Linked DNA regions of Homo sapiens: regions 1, 2, 3 and 4 are each linked to region 5. Evidence: promoter capture Hi-C in human tissues and cell types (Jung and others, 2019). All regions are on one chromosome and are shown on one strand. The core of a region is centred on a gene start or on the middle of the fragment in contact, and the rest is flanking DNA. Distances in the headings are between cores, read along the strand shown. Region 1 overlaps LOC107984554 (a long non-coding RNA gene). Region 2 has its middle 90 kb from the start of C13orf42. Region 3 has its middle 31 kb from the start of C13orf42. Region 4 overlaps LOC124903174 (a long non-coding RNA gene). Region 5 holds the start of KCNRG (potassium channel regulator).

Region 1 (2,700 bases), core at 78-2,577, 1.2 Mb after region 5:
GTGTGGACAAAAAGATAAGACAAATAAAGATACAGAGTGAAAGGGAGTAGGATGGAATGCTGGATTTTAAACAAACACAAAAGTGATGAAAAGGAAAATGATTCCTGTACCCTACTGAATTATTACAAAAATAGATGCAAAAATCAAATCAACAATGTCAAGGAAAATGAAAGGTCAGCGACTTTTCTCTCTCGCCTTCATTCAGGACCACATTCAACTTACCCCTGGAAGAATACATTTTATTTCCAAAGGGCCTCTTAGCAGAGATTGGGCATTCTGCCTGAGTAACCAACTCCTTTCTTCTGACTGTAAGACTAGAAAATGCATGGCTTTATATTCTAGAAATTGATGTATGTATAGAAATAAAATTGAGTGGTCAGTGGGCACAGAATTGGGAAATGTCCCTGTCTCTTATTTAATCTGTTTTCTAGTTATCAAACATAATTTGCAATAAATAAGAAACAATTACCAAAAATGCTATACTCAGATATCCTCAGAAAATCTTGCGTTGTTTCCTCAGTTTTTAAAACCTTGTCACTAGTATAGTCTTGTCCATCTAAATTTGCAGAAGTGATCTTAATACATTTCAAACAACGACTGCCACTTCAAGAACAGGTCTTCAGCAATCATCCTTGGGTTTTAACCTCTAGATTTAACCTCCTCCCTGAACTCCAAGCTTATATACCCAGCTACCTACTCATCTTCTTAACTGGCATAGCTATTAGGTTGGTGCAAAAGTAACTGCGGTTTTTGCCATTACTTTTAAATCAAACTACAGTAGGCCTCTTAACATGCCCCAAAGTAAATTCCTGAACCTTCCCATAGCCTGCTTCCCTGTCTGCTCCCCTCACTCTTAGTTGCACAGGTCAAAGATCTTACAGTCTCCTGACTCCTTTCTTTCACATGCTCCTTCCAGTCCATCAGAAAGTCTCCGGTTTGCCTTCAAAATATATCTAAGAGCTCTCCTTAATTCCAGTAACAATGGGCTAAATTATTAAAGCCAAACAAAACTTAGCAATTAAAAACTCTGGACAAAATATTTTAAAACATGTAAGAGCTGGCAAAATGATAAGGAAATATAAAAATGAAGAAAAATTATAGTCCAAGGGGGAGAAAATATCTGTCTTTGCTCTGAGGACATGTGTCCATCCCAAAACAGTCTTCTTGGGGACCTAAACATTATGGGGATACAACAATAAAACAATTTCTAGTTTTGAGAACTTAAAAGACTGGGACCTTAAAGGGTCTAAAAGGTGAGGCTAGTTCAGGAATAGATGATGTCACATAAAATTACACCTAAACCTGATTCCTGGATCATCCAGTGTAGTGGTCCCCAACCTTCTTGGCACTAGCAACTGGCTTCGTGGAAGACAACTTTTCCACAGACTGGAGTAGGGGGATGGTTTCAGGATGATTCAAGTGCATTACATTTATTTTGTACTTTATTTCTATTATTATTACATTGTAATATATAATGGAATAATTATACAACTCACCATAATGTAGAACCAATGGGAGCCCTGAGCTTGTTTTCCTGCAACTAGACAGTCCCGTCTGGGGGTGATGGGAGACAGTGACAGATCATCAGGCATTCGATTCTCATAAGGAGCATGTAACCTAGATCCCTCACATGTGCTGTTCACAACGAGGTTTGCACTCCTATGAGAATCTAATGCTGCCCTGATCTGACAGGAGGCAGAGCTCAGGTGGTAATGCGAGTGATGGGGAGTGGCTGTAAATACCGATGAAGCTCCCTTGCCCGCCGCTCATCTTCTGCTGTGCGGCCCAGTTCCTAATAGGCCACAGGCCTATCTAGGTAGGTTTGTGGCCTGGGGGTTGGGGACCCCTGATCTAGTGAATCTCAAGCCTTGAATTTGTTTTAAGGTCATCCCAAACTGGTAGCATCTCCATGCCTGGCAGAAACAATTAGAAATCCTATCTGAATGAAGTTTTCCTTAATCTTAGGCTTCAAATAACCCCTATGCGTTTTTTTTTTCCAAATACAACATCTAATATCCAGTCAAAGATAACTAGGCAGGTAGGAAGCTAGACTCCATGAGAAAGAACCAGCAGAAGCAACAGGTAACAGAAGTAGATTCACAAGGCTTACATAGGAATTATCAGTCTATAAAATAATCATGCTCACTATGTTTGAATCCATAAAAGATAAAACTTGTGGAACTCTGCAGAAACAGAAAAAGATAAAAAATGACAAAGCAGATTTTAAAATGGAATTTCATAGAAATAAAAACACAATAAAATTTAAAATTACATGGATGGGTTAAACAGCAGATTCTATGTGATTGAAGAGAATTAGTAAACTGAAGGATAAATCAGAAGAAATTATACAGAATGCAACATGGAGAAAAAAATGATTAAGTAGTATACAGGGAGTCAGTAGGGGTGGGTGGGAGCAGGTGTCACTTCTTTGCCTCATGTCCCCTGTCACTACCTGCATGCCACCAGCACCATGAAGATCTGGACTTCAGAGCATATCTTTGACAACCCATGGGACACTGTTACAACAGCTGCAGTGCAGAAACATCCAAACCCTAGGAACCCAAGAATGGTTGGATTTGACGTACTGAACAGAAATACAGGTCCCTCTGGAAAGTTGTAGAGCCATAGACTTTTCTACAGAGAGTGGGAACTGCCTTCCATTACGAATTCTCAAATATGGTTTATTCCAAGAACAAAAGG
Region 2 (2,700 bases), core at 8-2,507, 1.0 Mb after region 5:
TTTCACTCCTGTATTATTTTTATTATTATTATTATTAATGTAGAGAGAACAAAGCTGAGAATATGCAGGTGGAGTAATTACCCCAAGATCATGCCACTTACAAGTGACAGAGCCAGAATTCAAAACCACTTCTGTCTGGCTTCAAAGCCTGTGGCCCTGACCACTAAGACATACCACGCTCTGCTCAGAGGACGCTGTGGAGGAGAGGGTGCCTTACCTGCAGCCACCTTTTTGCCCTCCCTCAGCTGGTTGGCCACGTGTTTGGGCAGCATGGCATAAAGTAAGGTCTCTGTTTTCTTCTTTTCAATGGCCAAGTGCTTGGAGAGGACCTGTAGCTCCTCCTTCTTCCTTTCCAGCTGGTTGGACAGCTCTATCTCAGCCAGCCGCTGCTGGTTCAGGAGGATGAGATCCCTGGTGGTGTCGTTGGGGGCGATGTCAGAAAGATGCATATTGAGTTCTTCCAGCTCTTGCAGGCTGCGGAGCTTCGGAGAGCACAGGTACACCATGCACCACATGGACTCCATCCAGATCATCTGGCCTTGCCATCATGGAGAGAAATGCAACAGTAGAGTATGTCACCAGTAGGGACTGAGACGAGCTCGCTGGACAACCAATCATCTCCCACACTGTGTGCTTCTAGTTACTGCACAGTCACGCTCTTTCTCTTTTACCCAAGGTCTGTGAGACCTTACTTATCTCCCCTCTGTCCCTAGCAGCTGTGTCCATTGCCTACATTGAAGTGGCTCCCATCTATCAATGGCCTCCATGCTACCGATGCCAACACAAGTTCCTTGGCCTTTTCTTTACTCAGCCTTTCTGCTGTTTGATGATGTTAACCAGACCCTTCTTCCCGAAATCTCACTTCCTAGGACTTCTCTGACACTGCTTTCTCTCTGAGATGTCCCCTAATTCTTTGAATTTTTACTTACATTATTTTAATCTCATTCCTTAAATGTTAGTGTTCCTGAGGGTTTTGTCTTGGTATTCTCATTTAGCATCACACAACTGCATCCTACACCACGCTGACTGCATCTGAATTTCCAGAGAAACCTTGCTTCCTGAACTCAATATGTGTATTTCTTTAAAAATAGATATGTTTGTTATGTTATTGTAAAAGCAGTACACATTCATTGCAGAAAACAAAAAAAGTGAAAGAAAATAGTAAAAATCACCCATAATCATACCACATGGATAATTACTGTTAATATTTTGTAGTATATCTTTGTTTTACAAAAAAACAGGGATTACATGGCATCTTCTTTTCATAATCTGAATTTTTCACTTAAAATATATAACATATTCTTTCATAGTATTAAATATAGATATTCATCTTAATTTTTGCTGGTTACCTTGCTCATACTGTCTTTTATTAAATAATAAGCTAGTATTGATTATATTTTATCTAGCTTATCATTGTATAAACAACATTGTGATGAATAAGCTTGAGGCAGTCTTTGTGTATAATCATGGCTAGTTAGTTTGTTAAAAAGATATATTCTTAGACACGGGTTACTTAGACAAAGAATATCCTCATTTTTAAGGCTTTTGATACGTATTGCCAAAATACACTCTAGGATGATTCTGACAATTAATACCTCCAGGAACAGTGTTTTTTTTTCTTCTGTTCTCCCTATTAGGTATCTGTTCATGGATATCTGCACTGAACTCAACTTCGATCCCCTCCACAAATCTTCTCTTTCTATTAGTTCTTTCATTACATATGTAGTTAGTCCCTGCGATGAGCTAGGCACACTGTTTTAAGCATTGAGGATACAGCAGTGACTCAAACTGGCAAAAATCCCTGCCTCAAGGACATTACATTATGTCTTTTTTTCAGTTAATTGCACCTTCATCACCCAGTTACCCAATCAAGGAAGCTAATAATTATCCTAACGATTCTCTTCCACCCCCCACATCCAGTCACCAAGTCCTGCCTTAATTATCTTGTGAGTCTATCCTCCAATTGCCACTCCAGTGCCACTGCCAGAGTTTAGCACTTTAGAGTTTCTTTCCTGGACTCCAGAAGCAGCCTCTGTCTGGCCTCCCAGGATCCATTTTCTCTACACTGTGACCCATCCTTCACACACCTCCAGAGTGATCATTCTAAACATCAAATCTGATCATGGCAGACACTTCAGCATGTTTCCAGCTGCATGATAGAGTTCAAGTCCTCATCTTGCCAGCCTCCTCTCCCATCACTCCACTCTACACCTCACTCGGGTTCCCAGAACATGTCATTCTCCCCTTGGACATCCCCCGAGTTCTGCCTGTGCTTATCCCTGGAATAACTAAACATCCCTCTAATAGAAAGATAGCTCAGAATGTGTGCCCTTTCAAGGCATATGCAAAAATTTGCTCAAAAGGAATCAAAGACCTAAATGTAAGAGCTAAAACATAAACTCTTAAAAGAAAACATAGAAGAAAAGTTTCACAACATCAGATTTGGCAACAATTTCTTGGATATGGCACCAAAATCACTGGCAACAAAAAAGAAAATAGATAAATTGGATTTCATCAAAATTAAAATCTTTTGTGCATGAAAGGACACAACCAACAGTGAAAAGGTAACATACAGAATATATTTGCAGATTATATATCTGATAAGAGGTTAATATTCAGAATGTACAAGAAATTCCTACAACTCAACTGCAAAAGCAAACAACTCAATTAAAAATGGACAGAAGACTTGAATAGACATTT
Region 3 (2,700 bases), core at 95-2,594, 1.1 Mb after region 5:
GGCTTCCCTTTGAGGGTAACCCGACCTTTCTCTCTGGCTGCCCTTAACATTTTTTCCTTCATTTCAACTTTGGTGAATCTGACAATTATGTGTCTTGGAGTTGCTCTTCTCGAGGAGTATCTTTGTGGTGTTCTCTGTATTTCCTGAATCTGAACGTTGGCCTGCCTTGCTAGATTGGGGAAGTTCTCCTGGACAATATCCTGCAGAGTGTTTTCCAACTTGGTTCCATTCTCCCTGTCACTTTCAGGTACACCAATCAGACGTAGATTTGGTCTTTTCACATAGTCCCATATTTCTTGGAGGCTTTGCTCATTTCTTTTTATTCTTTTTTCTCTAAACTTCTCTTCTCACTTCATTTCATTCACTTCATCTTCCATCGCTGATACCCTTTCTTCCAGTTGATCGCATCGGCTCCTGAGGCTTCTGCATTCTTCACATAGTTCTCGAGCCTTGGTTTTCAGCTCCATCAGCTCCTTTAAGCACTTCTCTGTATTGGTTATTCTAGTTATACATTCTTCTAAAATTTTTTCAAAGTTTTCAACTTCTTTGCCTTTGGTTTGAATGTCCTCCTGTAGCTCAGAGTAATTTGATCGTCTGAAGCCTTCTTCTCTCAGCTCGTCAAAGTCGTTCTCCATCCAGCTTTGTTCCGTTGCTGGTGAGGAACTGCGTTCCTTTGGAGGAGGAGAGGCGCTCTGCTTTTTAGAGTTTCCAGTTTTTCTGTTCTGTTTTTTCCCCATCTTTGTGGTTTTATCTACTTTTGGTCTTTGATGATGGTGATATACAGATGGTTTTTTGGTGTGGATGTCCTTTCTGTTTGTTAGTTTTCCTTTAACAGACAGGACCCTCAGCTGCAGGTCTGTTGGAGTACCCTGCCCTGTGAGGTGTCAGTGTGCCCCTGCTGGGGGGGTGCCTCCCAGTTAGGCTGCTCGGGGGTCAGGGGTCAGGGACCCACTCGAGGAGGCAGTCTGCCCGTTCTCAGATCTCCAGCTGAGTACTGGGAGAACCACTGCTCTCTTCAAAGCTGTCAGACAGGGACATTTAAGTCTGCAGAGGTTACTGCTGCCTTTTTGTTTGTCTGTGCCCTGCCCCCAGAGGTGGAGCCTACAGAGGCAGGCAGGCCTCCTTGAGCTGTGGTGGGCTCCACCCAGTTGGAGCTTCCCGGCTGCTTTGTTTACCTAAGCAAGCCTGGGCAATGGCGGGCGCCCCTCCCCCAGCCTCGCTGCCGCCTTGCAGTTTGATCTCAGACTGCTGTGCTAGCAATCAGCGAGACTCCGTGGGCGTAGCACCCTCCGAGCCAGGTGCAGGATATAATCTGGTGGTGCACCGTTTTTTAAGCCCGTCGGAAAAGCACAGTATTCGGGTGGGAGTGACCCGATTTTCCAGGTGCCGTCCGTCACCCCTTTCTTTGACTCGGAAAGGGAACTCCCTGACCCCTTGTGCTTCCCGAGTGAGGCAATGCCTCGCCCTGCTTCGGCTCGCACACGGTGCACACACCCACTGACCTGCGCCCACTGTCTGGCACTCCCTAGTGAGATGAACCCGGTACCTCAGATGGAAATGCAGAAATCACCCGTCTTCTGCGTCGCTCACGCTGGGAGCTGTAGACCGGAGCTGTTCCTATTCGGCCATCTTGGCTCCTCCCAATATTGGGCTTTTATAATGAAGCTTAAAAGGGAATTGGGCTGGGTCTGTTAGGACTAGAACATCTTGTGATGCTGTATGGTTGGCTAGATAATGGCTTCCCAAAGATGTTTCCATCCTAATCCCCAGAACCTGTGAATGTCATTTTATATGGCAAAAGATATTTTGCAGATTTGATTAAATTAAGGATTTGGAGATGGAGAGATTGCTCAGGTGAGAGTGATGTAATCACAAAGATCCTTATAAATGGGCCGGGCACGTAGGCTCACACCTGTAATCCCAGCACTTTGGGAGGCCAAGGTGGGCAGATCACCTGAGGTCAGGAGTTCGAGACCAGCCTGACCAACATGGGGAAACCCCGTCTCTACTAAAAATACAAAATTAGCCAGGCATGGTGGCACATGCCTGTAATCCCAGCTACTCAGGAGGCTGAGGCAAGAGAATCACTTGAACCCAGGAGGCAGAGGCTGCGGTGAGCCAAGATCGTGCCCATTGCACTCCAGCCTGGGCAACAAGAGCAAAACTCTGTCTCAAAAAAAAAAAAAAAAATCCTTATAAATGGGAAGCAGGAGCACAGACTGAGCAGGTGGAGACATGATGATGGAATCAATAGGTTGGAGTGATGCAAGGATGGGGTCACCAGCCAAGGAATGCAGGAAGCCCCTGAAAGCTGAAAAAAGCAAGGAAATGGATTCTCCTCTAAAGCTTCCAGAAGGAACACAGCCCTGCCAACATCTTGACCTAACCTGGTGAAACTGATTTTGGTTCTTCTGACTTCCAGACTGTAAAAGCATAAATATATATTGTTTTAAGCCTTTAAGTCTGTGGTAATTTATTACAGCAGCAACAGGAAACTCATTCTCTCTGCAAAGGCGAACAGTGGTGAGAGGAACACAGTGTCCTGTTAGAGACACTTTGGGCTCTGTGTCTGAGAATGGGCACCAGGAAGGTCGGTCTTGGCAGCAATGCTCTCAGTTGCATGGCACATGGCTGGGTACACACGATTCAAATCAAACTAGCAGCTCCATGCATCTTGCCCCATGAAGCAGAAGACAGTCT
Region 4 (2,700 bases), core at 144-2,643, 1.5 Mb before region 5:
CTGTGAAATCACAATGCATGGGTCAGTGAGAAAGTTTAAGAGCCTCACCTAGAAGAAACGGTATTGAGTCTGTATTATTTAGAACCAGTGTCCGTTTAATCCTCTCTCCTGAGATTCCTATCTGGTGTGCTAGTTCCTAGCTAGAGTCTGGGGCCTGAGACACAAGTCGCTAGAGAAACCTTGGAAACCAATATATCGTCTCATTTTGCAAGACCTGGTATAATGTTTCTAAAGCTCAATAGTATAGTCTAAACTGATGGTCTCATATACATGACAGTGGAATAAGAAACAACATGAACATTTTAATTTTTTCTGTACTTTGAGATAATTACCCTTGTGATGGGTTTGAGGTAAACTCAGCTTCAGGGTTTCCAAAATTAAAATTAAGAGAGAGGTCTATAGAAAATTTCTGGCCCTATCCCCTGGAGTTATGCAGCCTGGGGTATGGCCCGTGGGACTGAAACCCTGTCCCAACATCACCACCAAAATGGCTGTTGATTCTGTTCCCAGGGGACTTCTCAAGTAATTTATAGAAGGAGAAATGAAGCTTAAGACAGGCAAATTTGGAGGCGATTATCAGTCAATGGTTTACAACAGGGCTGCCAAGTAGGCAGGACCCACACTATTGAGAAACCGGGAAGATGCAATGCAATGCTCCAGGCTCTGTGGCTATGCCCCATGCTCTCTTCTATTTACTTTTCACCTCAGTTCACTTCTATTTCTGATCTCTTTCCACAAGATTGACAGGGCTTTCTTTTGGACTTCTCTTTGATTAGGATTTAGCTTTTCCTTGGCTCACTCGGGGTTTCAACATCCTGGAATGCTTTCCCAGCACATCTGTGTATCTCAACATTTTCCATAGCACTCTGTCTTTCCTGATCACCTATGACCCAGCACTGCCACTTCATTCATGGGAATGTCCAGGCCCTCATTTAACCAGTCTTCCTAGTTCCCTGTTCCCTTTCCTACCCCATAGGACCACTTGAACCAGCTCATGGATCAGATACGTCTTCCACATCTTCCAAAAAGCTCAGAGGATTTTCTACCCCAAAGAGATAATCCTCAGGGAACCTGCTGGTCCCCTCCCTTTTTCTTTCAGTGTTTGAGACTTGAAGAGGATTATTCTGATGCTTTCTAGGCTCATCAGAGGATACAGGCCTATGGATCACTATGAAAGCATCCACTGTGAAACGGAAAATTGTGTTTTGAAGATAATGCTAGAAAGCTGACACCGCTAAGTCATACAATTCTCGTCTGTTCACAGAATATGATCAAAACTATTTTTTAGAACAAAGTTGATGTTTTTAGCATTGTCCCTGAAACTCCTGTCTCAGTGTAACTCCTTTACCCTGAACTGATTTGGCTTTAGAATATAAATTAGTGGTAAGACATGTATATGGCAAATGATTTGAAATGCAGAACCATGGCAACAAGAGCTTCTGTTAGAGAGAAAAGGAACTAACACTTATTGAGTGCTGTGTACTAGGTACCATGTGCCATTAATCATAGTGATAATGACAATATTGGAGCATGCATATTATGTTTAGGCATTGCTCTAAGTCCTTACATATGACCTATTTTAAGCCTCACAATAACTCCATGAGATGAGCACTGTGTCACTGTCCTCATTTTAGAAAAGAGAGGCTTAAAGAGGCTGAGTAACTTGTTTAAGATGAACTGAGTACCAAGCCCAGGTCTGTCTGAATCCAGCATCTTCTTACAGCATATTTTAAAAATGGATGAAACTTCCTACGGATTTAAAACTTTAAAGTTTTAGAAAATGAAGAGCTGAGTCACATGGCATAACTTGGACCTGATATAGTTAAATAATGATGAGATAAATGAGTTTTGACTGAGATTATCCATATTATCTCAATTTACTACATTTAGGCTATGAACACAGATTTCAATGGAACTCAAGTGACCATTTCATGAGAATGTATACATTGCGTCCTTTCATTTCATCTGTGTTTGTTGCTACAATATCAGAAGGCTTACATGGTTAATTCTATCTTAATATATAACTAGTCTTAATCATATACAGAAAATTTCTATTTAAATCTAGTAGGTAAAATATGTATACAACCTCTTATTTAAAAAATTAAGGCCAGCCTGGGCATGGTGCTCATGCTTATAATCACAGCACTTTGGGAGGCCGAGGCAAGTAGATTTCTTGAGGCCAGGAGTTCGTGACCACCCTGGCCAAAACAGAGAAAACCCGTCTCTATTAAAATACAAAAATTAGCCGGGCATAGTAGTGTGCACCTGTAATCTCAGCTACTCTGTAGGCTGAGGCAGGAGAATCACTTGAACCTGGAAGGTGGAGGTTGCAGTGAGCCGAGATTATGCCACTGCACTGCAGCCTGGGTGACAGAGCAAGACTCTGTCTCAAAAAAAAAAAAAAAAAATTAAGGCTAAGCACAGTGGCTCATGCCTGTAATCCCAGCACTTTAGGAGGATCCACTGAGGCCAGGAGCTCGAGACCATCTAGGCAACATAGTGAGACCCCCATCTCTAGCACCTTGGAGTGTTCTTATAATTTCTGGAATGGGCCTGGTCATAACTGGGTGTGGTGGCGCACATCTGTAGTCCTAGCTACTGGGGAGGTAGAGGTCGGGGGATCACTTGAGCCCAAGAGTTCAAGGCTGCAGTGAGCTATGATCCTCCCACTGCACTCCAGCCTGGGTGACAAAGTAAACC
Region 5 (2,700 bases), core at 174-2,673:
ACAAAACCTGGCATTTTCTTGTGATAAGTTTACATTTTTAGGAGAGTGGAGCTTTCAATCTGCCCTTTTCTCCTTTGTTTTTGTAGTTTTCACCAAAGATGATCAACTAGAAATGTTAAGTGGCTATGCAAGCAAAAGCATAGATAGGTTAAAAAAAAGGATCAGCTGGCTGGGCAGGGTGGCTCATGTCTATAATCTCAGCATTCTAGGACAGTGATGTGGGAGGATTATTTGAGGCTAGGAGTTCCAGTTCGAAACCAGCTTCGTAAACATAGCAAGACCCAGTCTCTACCAAAAAAAAAAAAAAAAAAAAAAAAAAAAAAAATATATATATATATATACACACACACACACACATATGTACACATACATATATATACATATATATGTATATATAGAACACATGGCAAGAGCAGGAAATGGGAAGACTACCTTTTTTCTGGCAGCTATGTGTTGTTTTGTTCGAAAGATGGCAAGTGTACAACCAAACCAATCCACTTGCTTACAGAAAGAATGTTTAGTGTAGTTAAGACTAATTTGACAACAGATAAAACAGTCTGTCAGCTATTACAAAGTAATCAGCTGAACACTAATGCTGTTCTGTCTGCTCACAAGAGATAAAGATACCCTCTCATGGAATAAACACCTTGCTTAGAATTCATATAACAAAGAAGTAACCTTATAACTGCTCTCTAGTCTGCCTTATTTGTGTCATAGAGTAAGATATTCCTTGAAAGCCCATTAAGTGGAATAGACTTTCTGAAAATAAGAGTTCTTTACCTCAGTCCTCCTCTAATTTGGTTGAGAGGAGGTAATGAAAATGGGGACAGGATAAAAGGTGGCAACTAAATTTAAAGCACAGAAGAAATGATTTCCTTCTAGCTATGAGAATAGTCAAATTGAGCTTGCCAGGCTGTCTCATTCCTAACATGTAATTCATGATTTAGCCACTAAATTTCTAAGGAGATCATAAGAAATTAAGAAAAACGTTTAAGTCTAGCCTCTGCGTGGTAGACAGGTATGGGGAGGGAGAATGCTTTTCCCCTCCCAGTAATAAAAAAAAAAAAAAAAAAAATATATATATATATATATATATATATATATATATATATATATATATATATATATATAGTTTTACTAGGTTTTCATGGATAAGTTTTTAAATGTAAGACAGGAAAGGGATCTATTTGATGTCTATCTTCAGATATATTGGCAGTTTTCCTTAAGCTATTTAGTTCCTCATCTGTTGCTTTTTCATTTTGTATACTGCAAGTTCCCAGGCAACTCGAATTTGCAAACACAGCCATGGATACACTATTTACCTTACAGTAGTTTCCTGGGAATCTAAGTCTGGTTTTTGTTATTCTTCCCTCCCCTCCACTGCATAATCATGTATAACTAGCAACATTTATGGTTATAGGTTGATTTCCTAAGTGTGGCTGATGGTAGCCTCTAGTTTGAAGTGAGGGAAGAATGAGTAGTCAGGAACTGGTCACTTTGAATGTGGGAGGGAAGATATTCACGACAAGGTTTTCTACGATAAAGCAGTTTCCTGCTTCTCGTTTGGCACGCATGTTAGATGGCAGAGACCAAGAATTCAAGATGGTTGGTGGCCAGATTTTTGTAGACAGAGATGGTGATTTGTTTAGTTTCATCTTAGATTTTTTGAGAACTCACCAGCTTTTATTACCCACTGAATTTTCAGACTATCTTAGGCTTCAGAGAGAGGCTCTTTTCTATGAACTTCGTTCTCTAGTTGATCTCTTAAACCCATACCTGCTACAGCCAAGACCTGCTCTTGTGGAGGTACATTTCCTAAGCCGGAACACTCAAGCTTTTTTCAGGGTGTTTGGCTCTTGCAGCAAAACAATTGAGATGCTAACAGGGAGGATTACAGTGTTTACAGAACAACCTTCAGCGCCGACCTGGAATGGTAACTTTTTCCCTCCTCAGATGACCTTACTTCCACTGCCTCCACAAAGACCTTCTTACCATGACCTGGTTTTCCAGTGTGGTTCTGACAGCACTACTGATAACCAAACTGGAGTCAGGTATTTTGTACTTTGCAGTATTTCTCTTGTATACCAGTTTGTGATGTTTTCTCTAAAAACTTGAAGTTCCTCAGGCCTGTAACTTCTGGAAAAGATGATTATTCAAAATAATGTTTTGGGGTAACCAGTGGAGTTGGGTAGAATGACCAAATAATTATTTTCCAAACTGGGATACTTTTTAGAGTGAAAGGGGCTATTATTAGGTGGGACAAAAGGAATAAATGAAGACTGCCCAGAAAAAACTGAGACTATGGACATTCAAATCATGGGAGAAAATAATTTTGTAGATTATGTTCCATTGCTAATGAATTTGACTTAGAAAAGAATTGCCTTATTTTTAAGAGATTGTTTCAGTGGTTCACATAAAGGCTCGCTCACTGGTTTCTCTTGAGTTCCTTACACACTATATAAGTTGTTCTTTCAGTTTTATGATTCAACTACTGTTTTTCCTTCAGCTGACTTTATTTTTAAACACCCTTAAAGACAGATATATCTCATGGCAAATTTGGTATCCTGTTACAGCCTTGGCTCTTAAACAACTCAAAATATTGGGATAGGCTGTCAGTATGTTAAGGATAGTTGCTCCTGAGTCAATTCTTCACTTACTCCCTCTGTTGTTCTTGGCTGGATCCTAACGCTGATTTCCACT

What was found. Contacts are between HindIII fragments. The study calls those that stand out against the background at their distance.
Region 1: a contact is called between a fragment that was not itself captured here and the fragment with the promoter of KCNRG in region 5, in 1 of the 25 tissues and cell types used here (dorsolateral prefrontal cortex).
Region 2: a fragment that was not itself captured here is called in contact with the fragment with the promoter of KCNRG in region 5 in 1 of the 25 tissues and cell types used here (dorsolateral prefrontal cortex).
Region 3: a fragment that was not itself captured here is called in contact with the fragment with the promoter of KCNRG in region 5 in 1 of the 25 tissues and cell types used here (dorsolateral prefrontal cortex).
Region 4: a fragment that was not itself captured here is called in contact with the fragment with the promoter of KCNRG in region 5 in 1 of the 25 tissues and cell types used here (dorsolateral prefrontal cortex).

What each region holds. Positions count from the first base shown.
Region 1 is chr13:51,193,411-51,196,110 of GRCh38, forward strand. All of the region lies in intron 1 of LOC107984554 (a long non-coding RNA gene), which reads right to left. It also overlaps the pseudogene PRELID3BP2. Among named protein-coding and RNA genes, the nearest start is that of FAM124A, 28 kb to the right of the region's middle. The HindIII fragment of the contact is 3,934 bases long and covers 1-2,700 here.
Region 2 is chr13:51,020,181-51,022,880 of GRCh38, forward strand. It overlaps the pseudogene GUCY1B2. Among named protein-coding and RNA genes, the nearest start is that of C13orf42, 90 kb to the right of the region's middle. The HindIII fragment of the contact is 5,319 bases long and covers 1-2,700 here.
Region 3 is chr13:51,079,205-51,081,904 of GRCh38, forward strand. No RefSeq gene overlaps it. Among named protein-coding and RNA genes, the nearest start is that of C13orf42, 31 kb to the right of the region's middle. The HindIII fragment of the contact is 3,142 bases long and covers 1-2,700 here.
Region 4 is chr13:48,545,131-48,547,830 of GRCh38, forward strand. All of the region lies in intron 1 of LOC124903174 (a long non-coding RNA gene), which reads left to right. Among named protein-coding and RNA genes, the nearest start is that of RCBTB2, 13 kb to the left of the region's middle. The HindIII fragment of the contact is 5,674 bases long and covers 1-2,700 here.
Region 5 is chr13:50,014,021-50,016,720 of GRCh38, forward strand. It overlaps KCNRG (potassium channel regulator), which reads left to right and starts at 1,424. Exons shown (of 2, transcript NM_173605.2): 1 at 1,424-2,051. The coding sequence starts at 1,474. TRIM13 (tripartite motif containing 13) reads left to right here. Exons shown (of 2, transcript NM_213590.3): 2 at 1-2,700. The region is part of intron 10 of DLEU2 (deleted in lymphocytic leukemia 2); the gene reads right to left. The HindIII fragment of the contact is 16,932 bases long and covers 1-2,700 here.